Regions from separate parts of the Homo sapiens genome. Here all the other regions are linked to region 2. Evidence: promoter capture Hi-C in 16 types of primary human blood cells and fetal thymus (Javierre and others, 2016). All regions are on one chromosome and are shown on one strand. The core of a region is centred on a gene start or on the middle of the fragment in contact, and the rest is flanking DNA. Distances in the headings are between cores, read along the strand shown. Region 1 overlaps KLF8 (KLF transcription factor 8). Region 2 holds the start of SPIN3 (spindlin family member 3). Region 3 has its middle 12 kb from the start of ZXDA.

Evidence for each region. The method cuts DNA at HindIII sites, captures the fragments that hold promoters and counts their contacts. A CHiCAGO score of 5 or more calls a contact.
Region 1: a fragment that was not itself captured here is called in contact with the fragment with the promoter of SPIN3 in region 2 in 2 of 17 cell types (non-activated CD4 T cells and total CD4 T cells); the score reaches 5.3 in non-activated CD4 T cells.
Region 3: a contact is called between a fragment that was not itself captured here and the fragment with the promoter of SPIN3 in region 2, in 1 of 17 cell types (monocytes). The highest score is 5.5, in monocytes.

Annotation. Positions count from the first base shown.
Region 1 is chrX:56,266,992-56,271,169 of GRCh38, forward strand. It overlaps KLF8 (KLF transcription factor 8), which reads left to right. Exons shown (of 6, transcript NM_007250.5): 4 at 2,387-2,498; 5 at 3,191-3,330. Among named protein-coding and RNA genes, the nearest start is that of KLF8, 37 kb to the left of the region's middle. The HindIII fragment of the contact is 5,951 bases long and covers 1-4,178 here.
Region 2 is chrX:56,992,880-56,996,927 of GRCh38, forward strand. It overlaps SPIN3 (spindlin family member 3), which reads right to left and starts at 2,662. Exons shown (of 2, transcript NM_001010862.3): 1 at 2,337-2,662; 2 at 1-2,070. The coding sequence starts at 2,068. The coding sequence ends at 1,292. RefSeq lists an enhancer at 2,594-2,693. The HindIII fragment of the contact is 2,350 bases long and covers 936-3,285 here.
Region 3 is chrX:57,896,532-57,900,279 of GRCh38, forward strand. No RefSeq gene overlaps it. Among named protein-coding and RNA genes, the nearest start is that of ZXDA, 12 kb to the right of the region's middle. The HindIII fragment of the contact is 2,126 bases long and covers 1,071-3,196 here.

The DNA of each region.
Region 1 (4,178 bases), core at 851-3,350, 730 kb before region 2:
AAGGGAGAGCCAAACAAACAAACCAAAAAAAGGAAACAAACAAAAAAGGAAATAAAATTCCTCGTGTGACAGTTTATGCTGAGATAAAGGCAGTGGTAACATCAAAGGATGGTTTGAAGGAGCTTTGAATAGTCCCCATAATATCATCAGTCCATCAGAGCCACTCTAAATAAACAGGATAAATTTTAAATGTGCTCAATGTGGTTCCAAGCTAAGGGCATTGGCCCAATGGTGTCTGTATTAGTTCGTTTTCATGCTGCTGATAAAGACATACTCGAGACTGGGAAGAAAAAGAGGTTTAATTGGACTTACAGTTCCACATAGCTGGGGAGGCCTCAGAATCATGGTGGGAGGCAAAAGGCACTTCTTACATGGTGGCAGCAAGAGAAAAGGAAGAAAGAATAGCGGAAAGCCCTGATAAACCCATCAGATCTCATGAGACTTATTCACTATCATGAGAATAGCAGGGGAAAACTGGCCACCATGATTCAATTAACTCCTCCTGGGTCCCTCCCACAACATGTGGAAATTCTGAGAGATACAATTCAAGTTGAGATTTGGGTGGGGGCACAGCCAAACCACATCAGTATCCAAAATGGGGGGCTTACTAAACCTTAGGGGGCACATATAAAACAATTGGAGTGCAAGAAGAAAGTATCAAAATTTGTATTTTCTTACCCTTAAAAATTGACAGGTAATATTGTATGTTTTAATCATCTATAGCATGATGTTTTGAAGTACATATGCATTGTGGAATGGTTAAATCTAGCTAAATAATAAATGCATTACCTCATTATCATTTTTGTGGTGAGAGCACTTAATGTCCATTCTCTTTACAATTTTAATAAATAAAATGTATCATCATTAACTATACTTGCCTTGCTATACAATAGATCTCTTGAAATGTATTCCTCCTATCTAGCTATAATTACGTATCCTTTGACCAATATCTCCCCATCCCCCTCCCCACTAGCCACCCCAGCCTCTGGTAACTACCATTCTACTCTACTTGCATGAGATTAACTTTTTTAGATTCCACATATGAGTGAGATCATGCACTATTTGTCCTTCTGTGCCTGGCATATTTCACTTAACATAATGTCCTCCAGGTTCATCTATGCTCTCACAAATGGCAGGATTTTATTCTTTGTTATAACTGAATAATATTATATTGTATATATATATATGTCACATTTCATTTATTCATTCATTTGTTGATAGATATTTTAGGTTGGTTCCACATCTTGGCTGTTGTGAATAATGCTGCACTAAACAGGGATGCAGTTATCTTTTGGGCATGTGATTTTATTTCCTTTGGATATATACCCAGAAGGGAGATTGCCAGATCATACGGTAGTTCTAATTTTAAGTTTTTGAGGAACCTCCATACTATTTTCCATAAAGGCTATAACTAGTTTACATTCCCATCAACAGTGTGTAAGTGTTCCCTTTTCTCCACATACTCACCAGCACTTACTGTCTTTTGTCTTTTCGATAATAGTCACTCTAACTTAAGTGAGATGACATACTACTTTTTGTTTGTTTTCTTATAATGTATACAAAATTGTAGGATACCGATACATGTATATCACATACATGCACAAACATGCACACCTCAAGATACATGCTTAAAACTTTTTAGTGAATGATATGCAAAGTATAGAGACAACTCTTTTAACCAAATACTTGTTCCCCACCTTATCACCACCCCCAAGTTTCTTCTCTATAGAAATTTTGAAGGTTTCACTGGATCTAGGAGACTGTTGACCACCTGATTGAGTTTTTAGGAATTAGAAACATCAGGGGTTGATAATAAGGAATATTTGACAGCTTCTCCCAACATAGGTGGAAAGGAAGGTTGTATCAAGCACCTACTAGGTGGTAGGTATACGTTTCATCTCATTGACTTATTTCTGTTTAGGAGCACAAAGGCCAAGGTGGATGTTCTCACATCTGGACTAATCCTAGAATTTGATTTTAGGACAGCCAGGAGCTATTCAGTGAGTTCAATTCAACACACACACACACACACACACGTTGAAACTAACTTTTCAGCTGACCCTGTCCTGGTAGCTGGAGATAGAAAGATGAATCATACCCAGACCACATCCTAGAGACACTCTCATTTGATACCACTCATAGTGGTATCAGAACTCTTCATACTACTCTTACTTTAAAGGCATTTCTGTTCCCTGCTATGCAAAAAAAAAAAATAAAATGTTATTCTCTTCCTTCCATGCAAATACACTTCTTTCATCTTGTTTTTTATTTCTTTATTTTTCTGTCTTGCTGCCACTTCTTAAGGTGGGACAAACTGGGAATCCTGAAAATGATTAAAGAGGCACATACATCTTCAGCTCACACTGCTCCCTTTCTTTGCTTTTAGTGAAAGTTGACCCCACCTCCATGTCTCCACTGGAAATTCCAAGTGACAGTGAGGAGAGTACAATTGAGAGTGGATCCTCAGCCTTGCAGAGTCTGCAGGGACTACAGCAAGAGTGAGTACTTTTTGTCTTCAAGTCTGTCTTTGTGTATGTGTGTGTGTGTGTGTGTGTGTACATTTGCACATATGTATAGGTGGAACTAATGATCAGACACAAGAGTAAGAATTTGAGGACAAGAAATATAGGGAGACTGCCTTTCCAGTGAAAGTATATGAGTTTGTGTGCACACATGTGCATGTACATGCATGCTATAGTAGAGCTATGTTCTAACTGTAGATCATCAATTTTTCTTTTGAAAAATCTTCAAATTTCCCATAAAGTGTAGTTATGTACTGTTTCTCTCTGTAAGTTTAAAACAGCTTTGTCTTTCAATATTGAAACTAATTGGAAGTAGTTGGCTTGTGTTTAGCAACAACTGTTGTATGAAAAACAAATTTCTTTAAGCAGGAAAATGAAACTTATTGAAGTGAAATGCTCACACTGTTTGGGAACACAACCACTGAAGGAAACACTACCACCTCCCATGCTTTCTCTGAGCACCTACTGAGGGACCTGTACCTACTGAGCAGAATGGCCTAGTTGACAGAATTGTTTTTACTATTCCAATTATTTCTTTTTGGGGGGACCTAGCATTAAATTCACGTAAATTAAAAGCCGATATGATGTGGCACCAATGAATGTAAATTCATTTTTTTAGCCTTCACTTTAAAGTCACTGTTTGGCTTTATCTCTATTTCTTTGATCAGACCAGCAGCAATGGCCCAAATGCAGGGAGAAGAGTCGCTTGACTTGAAGAGAAGACGGATTCACCAATGTGACTTTGCAGGATGCAGCAAAGTGTACACCAAAAGCTCTCACCTGAAAGCTCACCGCAGAATCCATACAGGTCTGCCCACTCCCATCTCACCCCCAACACACACACACACACACACACACACACACACACGAGAGAGAGAGAGAGAGAGGGGCAGAGAGAGAGAGAGAGAGGGGCAGAGAGAGAGAGAGAAAATTTCTGAGAGACAGAGAATGAAGTCCTGAAACAAAGACTGATGCATTTATACTCATGGGCACAGGCTCCATTCATGGTTTTTATCCCTATTTCTTGTCCCTACTCTAAGGCAGATTTTATAAAACTGGCCTAGGAAAACACTAAACTAAATCTGGTGTCTTAATAGTCATCATTCCCAGTGAGCCCTGTGGGTCTTTCTAATTGCGGAGTCAACACTTAAGCAAAGATTAAGGCATTACTCCCTTCCTTACTACCAGGGTCTCACAAGTTTTACTAAGCATGGAAAAGCACAAGAACAATTTAAACTATGTGAAATTAAAGCAGGTTGTAATCCACTAACCATTAACGTGTCTTTGTTCACATTAAAAAAAAAAGGTGCACATAAATAAATAAAGCAGACCTGGTAGTGATCCTGTCAAACCGAACAGCACATACCTGATCTGAAGAAGGAGAGCTGCCACTCAAATCCATGTAGTCAGCCATCAATATTCTTAGGTTCCACATCCGTGGATTCAACCAACCACAAATCAAAAATATTTTTTAAACAACAAAAATAACAATACAACAATAAAAAAATACAAATTTTAAAATACAGTATAACAACTACTTACATAGCATTTACATGGTATTAGGTAACGTAAGTACATCTAGAGATGACTTAAAATATAGGAGAGAATGTGTATAGATTATATGCAAATGCTATGTTATTTTATATCAGGGACTTA
Region 2 (4,048 bases), core at 1,412-3,911:
CTGCATATAAGTTTCTTAGGGCCAGCCAAGAAACAGGATAGTTAAAAATCCAAACACTAACAAAAATCTATTAGATTTCTATCTACCAATGCCAGCACTTAAAACATCATTAAGCCTACAGATTACCTACCACTGACTGTGTTCCAAGTCCTGCTGGGATACCATAATAGATGAGCCCACCAGTCCCTGCAAGGAAGTATAGCCTGCTTTCAGCCATTCTTGGTTCTCACAAGTGCCTTGCCCACCTCACATGCTGGGACTCTGAATTCAGTCTCCTAAGAATCAAATCTAAAACTTGAGTCTCTCTTAGCACAGCAAAGAAATCTGTATCTCAGTTTGATTCTAGGTTTCTCCTCTTTCATTTTGAGGTTCTGGACAGATCTGTCCAAACCCAGCCAAACCCAGCCTTTGCCTGTGACTGAGGGCTCTAGCTAGAGCCTGGCTTAATGCTCCTCTGGGCTGGCAAAGACCATTTGTGCTAAAGTCTGCCTGCACAGCTTCTATCAGTTAAAACCTACTCCATGTCTGCAGATACCAGCCAGAGCTATTGGAGACAAGAGAGACCCTAATGCCACTGATGACTAAAACCTTTCACTTAAGCTCCACCAGAAATCTTGATCTCTCCACTTGGAGTTTGGTCCCCAAATGCTTGTCTTCTTATCAGTTTTGCAAGGTTTCTCAGCCTATGGTTAGGTACTAAAATGCAAAGTAATTACCTTCTTAATTCTAAAACAGTTGAGCAATAGGTGAAAGAACCGGAAAGAGAGCAAAATTATTAGCCTTACTTTTAGTACAGTTAGAACTGAGAATGCAACTTGAACAAGAGACCAAAATGGGCTTCCCACTCTTTCCCAAGTTAGATTTTTGAAGCCACTTGGGGGAGATTTGAGATTGCAAAGACACTTACCCAGCCAGTCACATGGGATATCTCAGCAAGCTTCACACCTCAATGAGTGTAGAGTCCAAGTGCCAAAAAGAGTGAGGTGAGAGGTGTTCAGCTACCTTTAATCTATTAACACCACCCAAGATAAAAAAAAGTATGAGCCAATGGATGTCAGACTTTACCCTTCTCACTAATCAGTTAAATTGCGGAGAGGAACCAGTGAAAAGGTTGGACAGATGGGCAAAAGGTTTCTTCCAAAAACGTATGAGAGGGCAGAAGTTCCAATTTTTTTGCCAAGCAAAACGTGCAAAAAGGGAGAAGATGGTTCTTACAAACTGGAAAGCAATCAAGACTTTCTGTGTCTACAGATTTAGAGTCTCATATATTTGGCAAATTTCAAGATGACCTCTAAGATGTTTTTACCAAATCGTAGACATAGATATGGAAATCATCATCAAATTTGATGAAGTACACAGAGGGTTTTGCTTCTACCTGATGAATGACCATGCCAGTTCTCTTGGAGCCATCGTCTTTGGCGTATTCCACCTGTTTGCCTACCAGGCTGTCTATGACTTCTCCTGGCTCCCTCTCTGCCAGAGGAGAATCATTGGAATCTTGAAGGATGCGGAGGTCACCATCTTTATAATCATCTAAGAGCTGGTACATATATAATACAGGATCTTTCTCATAGGTAATGTAAAACCATGTGTTCATGACAGGTGCCTGAGCTAAGACCATCCCCCTCCATTCATTTTTGGAACCTTCCTCTGTCTCAAAAATATGTTCCACTGCTTTGCCAACCATTATTTCTGCCAAGTGTGTATCACTGATTCTAGATGATGCAACTCTATTAGGAAGGACTTCAAGTGATGACACTCTTTCATCTCTGTGAAGTTCCAATCCATAAACACAGTCAAATCCATCATATTTGATAAGATACAGAGAGGGATTTACAGGTACCTGATCCAGAACGGTTCCTTTCCACTGTGTTAGAGGTTCATCTCCATCTTTCCATCCGTGCTGAATTCTGCAGCCCACGATGTTCCCCCGAGGCTGGGAGGTGGGTCGGCTCCTATGCTTCTTGTGTGCAGCCTTCCTCTTTATCATGGTAACAGACACACTGCCGTGGCCAGCGCCCGTCCTGGACCGCTGCCCTGCAGCTGCCTTTCCAAACGGGGTCTTCATGCCTGCGAAGAGGAGCACAGTTGCCAGGTGGACCGAGAAAGGAAATTAACAAAATCAATGCATAACACGGAGAGCTTTTTCTCCTAATCAGCGCACCCAGTAAACCCACACCTGTTTTTCCCGAAAGCTAGATAGCAAAGCTGGAAATCAAGGCACCCTGGCTGAGTGCCTGCAGTAACCTTCCTCCCCAGCTCAGTCTGGCTAAGATCTGCGGTTCGGTGAAATACGAAGCGTTTCCCCATTCCCCTCGCCCTGCTTCCAACACTACCCGGCCAGGAGGCGCAGATTCCCCACCGTCCCGGATTGCGGGCCTCAAGTGCACAAATCGGACACCTCGCCGTTGCCTCCGCAGTGAGCCTATGGAGGAGGAAAATCAGCGGGCGAGCAGCCCGGTGCTTGCAAAAGCTGGGAGAGGATGATCCATAGGCAATGAGTGTCTCTAAGAGGGCGGCGGGGCAGGCGAAGATGACCGTGGCGGCGTCCCTTGCTCTTGGCTCCTGCGTCCTCCGCCTTCCTGGTGGCGGCGGCGGTGGCGGTGGCCGCAGCCCCTCTCCCACATCGGACTCCCACTAGTCGCTGCTGCGCCGCAGTCTCCTCCTTCTTTTTCTAGCGCAGCTTCCGGTCAGTAGAGAGGCCTCCCCTTCCTGCCAAACACCGCGTGGCGCCCCTCCCCCACCAACCTGTACCACAGCCCTGGGCGTGGAAGGTGCTCCTAGGCTCTCGGTCTCGCAGCTTCCTCCAAATCAGAAGCTGTGGAGCCCACAACCACCTCTCTCTCACTGCATTGGTTTACCTCTTCTGGTTTAGCACGCGCCCCTCCCCTCACCTAACCTCAACCCTCTGCGCCCCTGCCCCTTCTGCTTTCCACCTTTCAGGAATTAGCCCTTTCCTTTCCCCTCCCTCCCCGCGTCCCCCCACCCTCCATTGAAGGGGATTTGTGGTAGGACAAGAGAAATGCGCTACTGCTCAGTGTTCAGGCTGCCATCTTGACCCAATCTACGTAATTTTTACTGACTTGTCATTCCCAGACTTAACTTCTTGAGGATTTCTTTTCTTTTCCCCTGATTGCAAAAGAATTGCATGCACAATATTGACACTGTAAAATTCAGAAAATTGACATGAAGAGAAAATAATTAACTAAGCCGGCCTCCCATTTTCCAGGGCTCACAGTGAAATATTAACACTATTTCCTTTTCCTTTTTTCTAAGCTCTTACAAAGCTTGGATAATTTTGAATATGCACTTTCATGTCCTGCTCATTTCCATGTAGAATAAACATTTGCTCAATTTTTTAGATATTTTCTGAGAACATGTTTTGTAGTAGCTTCATAAAATTAAGCATTAGGATTTTTCATAATTTTGCCGTTGCCTCCTATCTTCAGACGTTTAATTGTTAAATACCTATAAATTGTGCTTGCGCATGAATTATTCTGTTCACTTGAACAGAATAACCTAGACACTAAACTTAGAACAATTGCTATAATTAAAACAGGAATTTGTGAGATCATAAATCTGTGGAGAAAGACATTTTAGAAGTGATTCAATCAGTTTTATCGTTACAGCCATCCTAGTGGGTATGAAGTGGTACCTAATTGTGGTTTTAATTTGCATTTCTCTAATGACTAATGAGGATGAGCATCTTTTTGTGTGCTTGTTGGACATTTGTGTATCTTTGGAGAAATGTCTATTTCAAGTGCTTTGTTCATTTTTTAAATGAATTGTTTGTAGCAGGGCTGTTAATTGTTCTTTTTAAATTCTGGATGAGAGAACCTTATCAGATATATGATATGAAAATATTTTATCCCGTTTTGTGGGGTGTCTTCACTTTCTTGATAGTATTTTTGATGCACAAAAGCTTAAAACTTGGTTGTGCGTTTGGAGTCACACCTAAATAAACACTGCCAAATCCAAGTTCATGAAAATGTACCCCTATATTTTCTTGTAAAATTTTGTTTGTTTTTAGCTCTTATATTTATGTCTT
Region 3 (3,748 bases), core at 884-3,383, 900 kb after region 2:
TGGAACAAGAGAAGGATGCCTCCTACTCTCAACACTCCTATTCAGCATAGTACTGGAAGCCCTAGACAGAGCAATCAGGCAAGGGAAAGAAATAAAAGGCAGCCAAATTGGAAAAAAGGAAGTTAAATGATCCCTGTTTTGTGATGACATGATCGCATATCTAGGCAAACCTAAAGATTCTACCCCAAAAACTCTTACATTTTATAAATGAATTTAGTAGAATTGCAGGATGCAAAATCAACATACAAAAATCAGTGACTTTTCTATACATCAATAATGATCTAGCTGAGAAAAAAAACAATAAGGCAATCCCATTTCCAATAGCTACAAAAAAAGTACCTAGGAATACATTTTAAAAAGAGGCAAATGATCTCTACAAAAAGAAAAAAACCCTACAAAACACTGATGAAAGAAATTGAAAATGACACAAATAGAAAAACACTCCATGCTCACAGATCTGAAGAACTAATAGCATTAAAATTACCATACTGCCTAAAACAGTCTGCAGATTCAATGCAATCCCTATCAAAATGACACCATTTTTAACAGAATTAGCAAAAAGAATCCCAAATTTCATATGAAACCCCCCAAAAAATCTGAATAGCAAAAGCAGTTCTAGCAAAAAGAACGAAGCTGGAGACATCACTTTACCTTACTTAAAATTATACTAGAAGGCTATAGTAACCTAAACAGCATGGTACTCTTATTAAAATAGTAACATGGATCAATGGGACAGGATAGAGAACCCAAAACAAAAAGCCATACAGTTACAGCCAATGTATCTTTGAAAATGTCAAAAAGAACATACATTGGAGAAAGAACACTTTCAGCAAATGGTGCTGGGAAAATTTGATTTTCATAAGCACGGGAATGTAACTGCTATGTCTTACCATACACAAAAATCAACTCAAGATGGATTAAAGATTTAAATGTAAGGCTGAAACAAATATTCTAGAACAAAACCTAGGGAAAACTCTTTTGGGCCTCGGTTTAGGCCAATAATTTATGACTAAGATCTCAAAGGAACAGGCGACAAAAACTGACATAGACAAATGAGACTTCAACTAAAAAGCTTCTGCACAGCACAGGAAATAATAAACAAAGTGAACAGACAACCTGTAGAATGGGAGAAAATATGTGTAAAGTATACATCCAACAGGGCACTAGTATTCAGAGTATACAAGGAACTCAGCCAACTCAACAAAGAAAGAAAATCCCATTAAAAAATGGAAAAATGACATGTATGGAGATTTTTCAAAAGACCTACAAATGCCCCACAGATACGTGAAAAAAGTATTCAACATCACTAGTCATCAGAAAAAAATGCAAATTAAAACCATGATGAGATATTATCTTACCCCAGTCAGAATGGTATAATTAAAAAGTCAAAGAATAACACATATTGACAAGGATGTGGAGAAAAGGGAACTTTTATACATTGTTGGTGAGAATTTAAATTAGTACAACCTTTATGAAAAACTAAGTATGGAGATTTCCCGAAGAACTAAAAATAGAACTACCACTTGATCCAGCAATCCCACTGCTGGATGTCTACCCAAAGGAAAAAAAATCATTATATTAAAAAGATAGCTGCACTTGTATGTTTATTTCAGCTCTAGTCACAATAGCAAAAATATGGAATAAACCTAAGTGTTCATCAATAGATGATTGGATAAAGAAAATGTGGTATGTATACACAATGAAATACTATTCAGCCATAAAAAGAATGAAATCACATTTTTTGTAGCAACATGGATGGAACTGGATGTCATTATCTTAAGTGAAACAAGTCAGACACAGAAAGACAAATATTTCACATTCTCACTCATAAGAACTCCCATATCTGATGGTGAATGTGTAAATTAGTACAAACACCTTGGAAAACTGGCAGTGCTTACTAAAATTTAACATACCTAGCTACACTCCCATTTATTTATTTGATTGTTCATAGCAGCATAATTAGCACTTGCCAATAACTGGAAACAATATAAATGCCTATAAGCAGAAACTAAAAAAATTATGGGTGAGGGATACACTATAATTCTACAACAAAAATAAATGAACAAGCCACGTGTGGTGTCCTATGCCTGTAGTCCCAGATACTAGGGAGGCTGAGGTGAGAGGATACCTTGAGCCCAGAAGATCAAGGCTGCAATGAGCTATGATAGTGCCATTGCACTCCAGCCTGGATGACAAAGAGAGACCTTCTCTCTTAAAATAAAAATGAATAAATGAATTGTTTATACATGCTAAACCATGGCTGAATTTCACAAACAAAATGTTGAGTAAAAGAAGTCAAAAAGAATATAAACTTTCCATAAAGTTTAAAAATAAAACTAATCTGTAGTTTTAATATATTCACAAAAAAACTTGTACACAAATATTGATAGCAAAAACTAATAATACCTAAAGGTGGAAACAACTCAAATGTCCATTAATTAATTAACAAATAAAATGCAATATAGCTATACAATGTGATACATTTCAGCCATGAAAAGAGTGAAGTACTGATATGTGCTAAAACATGGATGAACTTTAATAACATCATACTAAGAAAAGCCAGACACAAAAGCATATATTGTACAATTCCATTCATATGAAATATGCATAATAGACAAATCCATAGAGACAGAAAGTAAATTAGTGGTTTCCTGGAGATGAGGGAATGGAGAATGATTATGGGATTTCTTTTCAGAGTGGCAGAGGTGTTCTGGAATTACCCAGTTGTGATGACTCAGCAACATTATGAATGTTTTAAAAATGACTGAATTGTATATTTTAAAATGGTGAATTTTACATTATGTGAATTTTATCTCAATAATAATAATAAACGAAGAGAAACAAGCAAATAAAAAACATCTAACTTTTGGTTTTGAAAATCAAGTTATTTATTTTGGTACAGGATGGTAGTGACTAGCAGAGAATATGAGGGAGCTTTGAGGTTCTGGTAATCCTTTCATCTGAGTAGTGGTTTTATAGGTGTATTCATTTTTTGAAAATTAATAAAGCAATTTTGTAATGTATGTTATATTTTTAAAGTATATTTCAATAAAAGTTATAAAAATAAAATTTACAAATTAAAAAATGTTTTAGGGCCAGTTATAATTCAATACATGGTAACTTAAAATTATATCAAGAAATAATTAAAATACACAATATAGCCTCACAACTAACAATCTATAGGTTGGTATCTGGAAGCTTATTGAATTGAATAATCCAACAATCTTGAAAATAAAAATAAAATAAAAATCAATTAGCAATTTTAAAGGCATGAATCAAAGATTCACATTTAGTTTAAAAATACTCTTAAAAATACTTGGAGTGGAAATACTTAAAAACACCAACTACTAAAATTATCATGTAAAATAATCAATAGCCTCCAATTTCATAACATTTTGGCATTTCATAGTCAGGGCCCAAATCTGTAACTTTTCTCTTTACTTATTACTGTCTTCAAGAAACTTTCAAAAGATAGATTGTATTAGACAGACAGATTACCAATGTTGCAATAATGGCTCTTTGATTTTTTTTATGTCTAACTGTAACTGGAAAATTCTGGACATGCTTCAAAATTGTCACTATGCTTTTATCCAGATGCTTTCAACCAAAGACACTTAGACCAAAACACTTGGCTATAGAGCAAACTTAATCATTTGATTGTTTAAATTCTATTTTCTCATTTCTATTTTTGGGAAGAATCCTCAATGATTTTTATAAATACAGGCAACATTTTATCTTTAAGAATTTT